Linked DNA regions of Homo sapiens: regions 2 and 3 are each linked to region 1. The links are contacts of gene promoters, found by promoter capture Hi-C in blood cells and fetal thymus (Javierre and others, 2016). All regions are on one chromosome and are shown on one strand. The core of a region is centred on a gene start or on the middle of the fragment in contact, and the rest is flanking DNA. Distances in the headings are between cores, read along the strand shown.

Region 1 (2,700 bases), core at 174-2,673:
GCAGATTTATATATAGTAACATTGGTTAAAAAAAATCACTTGACAAAGTTTTCTATTTCCGTAACATTGTGTCAGGAGGGAAGCTTAACGGAAAGTCTTCCCAGGGATGAAAGTATTTGTTTCTATTTTATATGTTAGTTTTAACTCCTTAAATTCATCTCCTATGAGAATAAACATTCTTGATCTGACTCAATGTGCTCTCTGAATTCACTGAAATAAAATATAGCCTGTAACTCTGACCAATAACCTGGGGTGCCTCCCAGAACTGCTGGCTCCAGGTGATCTACAGATTTCCCAAGAGAAGCGCTGCAGCTCCTACCCACCAGCAATCTAAAATCTGCAGCAATTCCGCAGGACCACACCTAGGCCCAACAGCACATACCTGCAGAGCCGGAAGCGCCTTCCCCTCCAGGGCATCTCCTGTCCCCAGGGAAGGAATTAAAGTTCTAACCCCTGCCTCTCCTTCTACCCATCCTAGTATCTGCTTTTCCTTTACCTCGTCTTCCACACTTACTTGCCCCCGACGCTATTATGTAGCTTGTAAACTCGTGACTCTCAAGGAAAGTATCAGCAGAAGCCACAACTTCGGGGAATGACTCACTAAGGAGTCTCCAGCGCCTTCCACCGCCCTGCAACTGCCCCACTACTGTAGCCCTACGGCTCCGTGCTGCCACCCCACATAAAGAAGGGGCATTTTCTGAAATCCAAGGAAGAACCTGAAGAGTCCCCCACCCGCCTAGAGGCGTCTCTTGCTCTAAGTCAGCGGTAGGAAATGACCACCTTCCCAGTACAAATGGACAAACGATTCTAAGAGGCAGGAGGAAAACAAACACAATTCCTTCAGAGGCTCTCCCGACCGTCCCTAGCAACACATCCCCACCGCAGCGGGTGCATTGCTCACAGGCCACTTCTGAAACCAGTGTTACTGATCAGGCCTGCACAACCACTCCCCCGGCAGTGTCCGGCTCGCCATCCTCTGCGCCGGAACAGCAGAGGGCAAGGTCGGGTGGTCTCCGGAAGGCAGAAAGGTGCCCCCAGACTGCAGAGCCCGGGGACAGCAGGAGAGGAAAGGAAGGAATGGAGGAAGGGTTGACCTTGAGAATTTTCCTGAGTTACACATAAATAGGTCGGGCCTCGCTTAGACGCTCCCAACCCACTCCACCAGGGAAAAGATGCAAGGCAAGGGGAGAGCAGAGAGGGTGGAAATTCAGATCGCTAATTTACTGATAAGGGTGGGGGGAGGTTAGAGACAGCGGGTCTCTATTCAGCTCGCATAGGCTGAAATATGGGAGTGCCCTGCGCAAAGGCTGAAGTGCCCCCGGCGGCCCGGTGCTCGTGGCTGCCCGCAGGTGCTAGCACTCACCTGGATCACCTTCGAACAGCTGGAGCAGAACAAAACTGCGCAGCGCGGTGTGGGTGCGGCGCCCTCGCCTGGGGCGGGGCTAGATGAGGCCAGAAGCAGGCCCCGCCCCAGCCGACCAGCGCGCGGCCACGCCCCCAAGGCGGGGCTCCTGGCGCTGGCGCGCGCTGTCTAAGTTGCCAACTCAGGGCCACTGGTTGGGAGGTGGAGGCCTAATTTTCTTCCTGCTCATGGTCGTCCAGCGATTTACTCCTCTCATTCTCAAAAACATATATCTACTCCCCCAGGTGCCTTCGTGGCCATCTTCCTAAACTGTCCCAGCCAGGTCATACCTCCCGGATTGGGTTTGCAGAACAGTGGGACGTGAATAATTTGTCCCCAGCAGAGCCACCGTAGCGGTTTTAGGCGCTCTGCTGTAAGGGCGAAGCACGGGCATGCAAGGCGCGTGCGCGAAAGTAGCCGCGCCTCAATCGATGTGTCCCTGAGGCGCGTAGCTGGGGCGTGGGCGGCGCTTGGTGTCCCAGGTTGCTACACTCCCGAAGTGAATGGATTTATCGCTGTTAGGGCCTTTTTGTTTAGGGCCTAACAAATATTGTTAGTTTTGCCGAGAGCTGGCGCCGAGCCCTGCCCTCGTGGTGGGCCGTACCCACGCCCCCTGAGCGCGGAGTCGCGTGGCTCCGGAGTTTTGTTTTTTTGAAAGGAGTCTCCCAATTGTCCGTGGAGTTTTTTTTGCGGCACATGGAGTCTCTGCCTTCGCGACCCAGACCTTTGATGTGAACACCTGCTCCCGTTACGCTCGGGTCCAGCGTCCGGGGCGGGGCTCGAGGCCGGGTGGAGGAGGGGTGGGGGCGGGGGTCTTGGTCTTGGGTGAGACCTGCAGATACGGTCGGGCTGAAGGAGTAGAACTGGCTTCTAAATGCCGGAAAATCCGAAGGAACTGACTGCAGAAGGCACGTTTCCAATTTTCGCGTGTTTTAAGTGCACCCTCCCGCCACCTCTCCTCTGGACATCCCTCATCCTTTTGAAGATTGCCACACCTGGGCCCCTCCTAGAGTCTCCTCTTTGGAGGATTCCTCACCTCCGAGAGAATGCTTAGGAACCCACCTGAATGATTCCAAGTTAAGGTGTGGAAAGGCAGAAATCTAGATTTTTGAAGGCTCTAGGTTATGTGTGTGTTTCTTTTTATTGGGTTGTCATATTTGCACATCTAGAGGTACTTTGAGAGCTCATTAAATCTTTACTGTTGCTGTTTCAGCAATTTCCAACCATTCTCATACTTTCTGTCATGTTGGGTTTCTGTCATGTTGGATGTAGAGAGGGCTTTGTTTTGCTTGAACATT
Region 2 (2,700 bases), core at 80-2,579, 1.2 Mb before region 1:
ACCTACTCTTTGGAGTAAGAATGGACAAACATCCCTAAGTGTGAAATATGAGGAGGTAAAATGGATTCGTCTTCAGGCTTTCCTCAGACTTCCTCACCCTGGAAAGCCAGTCAGCCCAGGAATTTTCCACCCTACTCCTTTCCCAATTCCCAGGCTTTTAAAGAACTGTCTCTTTGGCCTTTTTTTCTCCCTGGGAAGTTCCAGATCTAGGTCATACCTATTTATAGTCCCTTTCCCTTTGCTGATAAAATGGGAACAGGACTGTCTATGCCTGTCATTTCAGAGGGGCCATCAATACTCTTAGGGGGGGTAACATATTCTAGGCCTGGTAAAAACATCAGGTACCAGGAGCCCTGAAGCTGCAGGAAGAAAGCTGGGGGCTGGTGCAGGATTCATCTCTTCCTATTAATGACTGAGCCACGGAGGATCTTCAAACAAGCCCACATTATGCTCCAGAGGCACAGTGTAGTGGCTTAGACATTCTCCTCACAGCAAGCCTCTGTGAGAATGGAGCGATCCTTCAGCCAGGCCCTGCTGCGCAGGCCTCCCCTCGCTCCACAGAGGCCTTTTATCTGGCTCAACATAGCAGAAGGTAAACAGGGCCGGCCCCGGGCAAAACTGAGAAGTCAGGCAGTCTGTGTACCACCTCCAGACACCCCTCCTTGGCCTTGCAGGTAGGGACCTTCAGTCCCTGCCCTCCTCCCTTTCCTCAGAAGATCAAGGGCTCACTGGATAAGTGTTCTTCCTCTAGCTTGTGTGCACTGCCTTGCTCTGCTCAGGAAGTTGGCATTCCAATGCTATCTCAAAGGGTAAATGTTGTAAAGTGCTTACACCTTGCACAGCCTCGCTAAAGCCTTGCAGCCACCCAGCAAAGACGCAGGGATCTCGGGGGAAGGGGTTGGGGTAGTTTGTACTGATCCACTGATGGAGTGCCTGCTATGGGCCAAGCACTGTATAGGACACTCAATCATATAAATATATTCTCTCACTGAATCCGCTAAACTAGGGACATGGGGATCACTACCTCACTTTTATGGGTAAGGAAACAGAGTGGTTAAGTAACTTGTCCAAGGTCACAGAGCTAGAAAGTCTGATGCCAAAGCTTTGCTTTCTTAGCAGGCCACTCAGGCCTTAGCATGGTGGCTGTAGAGAGCCTGAGGCCTCCCTTAGAAAGATGGGCTAAGGCCTCATTCCACAGAGCTAAGGAGAAAGCTCAAACTCGCTGGCGTAGCACTGCATGTCCTCCTGGCTGGCTCTGGCCCCTGGCCTGGCCTCCTATACCTGATCCCCTTCCACTCCCTGCCATGAGTTTCAGGTTCCAGCTGCAGGAGCTGCTCCTAACTCTGCACCCAAGCTCCTCTCCTCAGTGCTTTTGCCTGTGCTGTCCTCTTGCCTGGAATGCAACCCCCTTCCCTTCCCTTGGCTGATTCCATAATGACTAAGACTCAGTTCAAAGCACATTTTTTATTTTTTCTACTTAAAATTGTATTTCTATTTCAATTCTATGGAATTTTATCCTAATATATTATCATAGTTCTTATGCTTGAAAAGCTTTCACTGATCACCCTAACATAATTCTCTATAACCAAAATACATATTTTAAAAACAGATTCTTTTCTTCTAATGCTCTAGAGCAGGGTTTCTCAACCTCAGCACAACTGACATTTTGGGCCAGTTACCTCTTTGTTGTGTGTGTATGTGTGTGTGTGTGTGGTGGTGGGGGGGCATCCTGTGCACTGTAGATATCTAGCAGCTCCCCTGGCTTCTATCCACTAGATGCCAGGAGGATCTCCCAGTCCCCAACGCACCCCCACCAAGTCAGACCAACAAAAGTGTTTCCAGATATTGCCAAATATCCAGGGGTGGGGAAAGGGGGTAGTGTTTCTAGATGTTGCCAAATGTCCAGGGGTGGGGGCAAAATTGCTCACTGCTCAAGATTAGGCCTTGTCCAGGAAGCCCCGGAGTTCTCAGCCTGAATGAGGCATCCCCTCATCTTGGCTCCTGGTGCATCCTTGCAGACTTCCACCACTGCACTCTGCACACTGTGCTTACTATTACTTATGTTTACTTTCCTGCCTTGCTCACAAGACTGGAAATTCCATCAGGAAAAGAGTCTCTCTTTACGCCCAGCACTGTGCTTGGTAACTGTGGATGGATGGCTGATTGCCTGGAGGCCACAAATGCCCAATCCCCAGCACCACCAGCTGCTGGACTCCCTCCTCCAGCCCTTCTGGTTACTTCCTTCTTTTCCCACCTAAGCATGGTTGGTCTTCATCTTGCTCCTTCCTCACTGTCCCAACATTCACTTTCATTGCACCTGTTCTCCAAGGCTCTCCATTTAGATGTTCTGGGTTGACCAATCTAGCCTCAAAGCCCTGAGTTTTGACTGCCTTGAGTTCTTGTTCCAGGCTAAATAGACCTGACGCCTGCTTGGATCAGAATTGGGAAGAAGGATGTGGTGGGCAAAGAACACTGATGAGACAAAGGCAGCGCGGTGTCCACAGCTAGACTGGCAAACTGAGAGCCTGTGGTTGCACTGTTTTTTTTTTTTTTAAATTAAGGTATAGCATACATATGGTAAAATGCATTACTTTTAAGGGTGCAGCTCAGGAGACCTGTTTTGAAGAACAAATGTCAGTGTTCATGTGTAACCTTAGGGCAAGGCAGATAATCTTTCTGCATCCCAGTTCTCTCCTCTGG
Region 3 (2,700 bases), core at 123-2,622, 1.2 Mb before region 1:
GTGGGGAGCCATGGAAAACTTAAGTGGATATTTTTTAAATGTGTCAAAACTTACCCAGAGTTTTGACACAGAGAGGAAGACTTTGCCTGACCTTTGTATCTCCTTTCACCTGTGTATCTCCAGTACTCAAAGAGTTCCAGACACATAATAGGAGCTCACTGTATGAATTCAAGTGAAGAGAAGGTGCCCGGCTGGCATTGCAGCCAGGACAGGGCTTGTGGGTTTAGGTTGGGCAGTGAGGAAGTTGAATGAATGAACTTAAGGGGACATCTTTGGAGAAATTACACAAGATCTAAAAGCTATCTAGGATTATTTAAAAAACTTTGGGAGGCAATTTGACAATATACACCAAGGCATTTATAAATATTCCCATCATTTGATCCAGTAATTCTATGTGTGGGACTCTATGCTAAAGTAATAATCCTAAAGGAGGAAAAGTTTTATGCATAAAGAAGTTTTGCTTCATTATGCTATATGCTTCAAAAGCAATATTACAGTATTGCTTTTTAATAGAGAAGAAATGGACACAGTCTAACAATTGGGAAACAAGTTGTGTACCTTCTATCTGTGGGGGTATTTAATATGTTGTCATTAAAATTATTCTAAAGACAATGTAATACTACAGATAAATCCTTAAGTTTAAAAACGTGCAAAATTGAACATAGAATATTTTAAGTCATGGGAGTGTGCGAAGTGAAGGAGAAATCTCTCTCAGTTAAGTGTTTGTCCGGGAGTGGTAAAACACTTTTTCCTTCTTTTTATCTTTATCTTTCTGTGTATTTTCCAAATTTTACATAGTTACCTCATTTACTCAAATACTTATTAAGCATCCACTATGTGCCAGGCGCTGCTCTAGAGAATTGCGGGTAACAGTGAATAAAACACAACTCCTGTCCTCGAGCCATAACATTTACAAGATAAATCAACTAAATGTCATATGAGACGGTTAGTGCTCGGGGAAAAATAAGGCAAGGAAAGAGTAAAACTGATACTGCATTTACTTTTTTAAATGGAGGGGTAAGGTACTCCTCCAGGCAGAAGAACAGCAGGCTGAATTCGGAATTGCCCCAGCGGTAACAGAATGAAAGAGCTTGGGACACGCCAGCCTGTCAGCAACGTTGCAGCCGAGGCGGGGCGCGCGGGTTTAGGATGGGCGCGCGACAAGGTGAAGCGGATCACGTGACTCGAGGGGCGGGAGGAAGAGAGCAGAGTTTGGCCGGGCACCTTCCCTGCGAAAAGGCGGGCGGAGCCGAAAACCAAACAAACGACTTCTGAGAGATTGGGGGCGGGACTGACGGCGGCCGGCTTAGCTTCCAGAGCCAAGGCCTTCCGCCGAGTTGGTTTTTGGGTTGTTGATCGCGGTGGCCGGGCGGTCTGCGGTCGGGCTGAGACACGCGGAGCAATGGCGACCTTTGTGAGCGAGCTGGAGGCGGCCAAGAAGAACTTAAGCGAGGCCCTGGGGGACAACGTGAAACAGTAAGAGCTGCCCTAGCACAGCGTCCAGGCCAACACGCGGGTGCTCTCCTGGCCTCGGGCTGCCAGCCCGCCCCGGAGACGCCCGCGTCGCCCGGGGGCCTGTGCAGCCTGGAGTCCGCGGCGGCGGGGCTTCGGGGTTTCTCCGGCCGGGGCGGGGCGGGCCACCTGAACTCACCGCCCTGGAGAGACCGGGCCTCCTGGGCGCCCGGGAGACATCGGCGGGCGCCGTTGCTCGGGACTGTCTGCCCTGGGTGGGGCGGGAGAAGCGCACTTCGCACCCAAGGGCCTGCTGAGCAGGTGCGGGCCCCAGCGCGGGCGTGCGGGATGCGGGAGGCTGACTTGGGCGGAGTGAGCCGGAGCCCTACGCGTCCAGCCAGAGGGCATAGCGCAGGGCGGCCCGCCCCTGGAGGGCTTCCTGGAGGTGGAGGCCTGTTGAGCTGGTGTGATCTGCTACGGATTATTGGTAAGCTCTTTTGACAGCAATTTCGTAAGGCAGACGGACCCTCTGGTGAAATCACAGTCATTGAACACTACAATTATAGTGATGATAGCAGTAGCGGACATTTTAAACATTTTAAGCTCTCTAAATATATTATCTAATCCTTACAACAGATGTGAGATAGGTACAGTTGTTATTCCCATTTGACAGATGAGAAGACTGAGACCTAGTGCGGACAAGTAACTCTTCAAAAGTCACTGTCAGAGTTGGGACCCACGCTTTTGATTCCCGACTGATGCATTAGAGGGGCTGTAAAGGATCCCAGAGACGCTCAGCCAGACCTTCATCCAGGTTATGGCAGGGGACCTAGTGCACAGTCAGGTTAGGTGCAGAATGGCCAAGGGTAAAATCAGTATCCAGTCAAAGCCAAAGCCAAAGAGCAAAAAAGGAACCTCTGGGATACAAGGAAGAGTTTGGAAATTTTCAAAACGTTGTTATTACAACTTTATTTTTCAAAAATATAGGAAGCAAATATAAACGTTTAAAATTACAGTGCCTGTGTTGTTGCTGCTAGATGGCTTCTCTGGTATTCTACACATTTGCATTACTCAGTGGATGCATACTTTTAAATGATGTTGGTGGAGGAGCAATTTGGGAATACTTAATTTTTCTCCAATACTTTCTTTTCATCCTTCTCTGTTCTTTATTATTACTGGATTGAAATTACTTAGGTTGGATGTCATACATGAATTTTGGAGTTTTTCCTTCATGTGAAATTTTGGGGT

Evidence for each region. The method cuts DNA at HindIII sites, captures the fragments that hold promoters and counts their contacts. A CHiCAGO score of 5 or more calls a contact.
Region 2: a fragment that was not itself captured here is called in contact with the fragment with the promoter of MGST3 in region 1 in 1 of 17 cell types (M2 macrophages); the score reaches 5.1 in M2 macrophages.
Region 3: the fragment with the promoter of TADA1 here is called in contact with the fragment with the promoter of MGST3 in region 1 in 1 of 17 cell types (M0 macrophages); the score reaches 7.2 in M0 macrophages.

The regions. Positions count from the first base shown.
Region 1 is chr1:165,629,957-165,632,656 of GRCh38, reverse strand. MGST3 (microsomal glutathione S-transferase 3) reads right to left here and starts at 1,423. Exons shown (of 6, transcript NM_004528.4): 1 at 1,364-1,423. RefSeq lists enhancers at 749-918, 1,972-2,502 and a silencer at 1,349-1,588. The HindIII fragment of the contact is 6,286 bases long and covers 86-2,700 here.
Region 2 is chr1:166,841,857-166,844,556 of GRCh38, reverse strand. The region is part of intron 2 of POGK (pogo transposable element derived with KRAB domain); the gene reads right to left. Among named protein-coding and RNA genes, the nearest start is that of POGK, 3.7 kb to the right of the region's middle. The HindIII fragment of the contact is 449 bases long and covers 1,105-1,553 here.
Region 3 is chr1:166,874,936-166,877,635 of GRCh38, reverse strand. TADA1 (transcriptional adaptor 1) reads left to right here and starts at 1,372. Exons shown (of 8, transcript NM_053053.4): 1 at 1,372-1,476. The coding sequence starts at 1,403. RefSeq lists an enhancer at 986-1,035 and silencers at 1,436-1,485, 1,516-1,915. The HindIII fragment of the contact is 11,749 bases long and covers 1-2,700 here.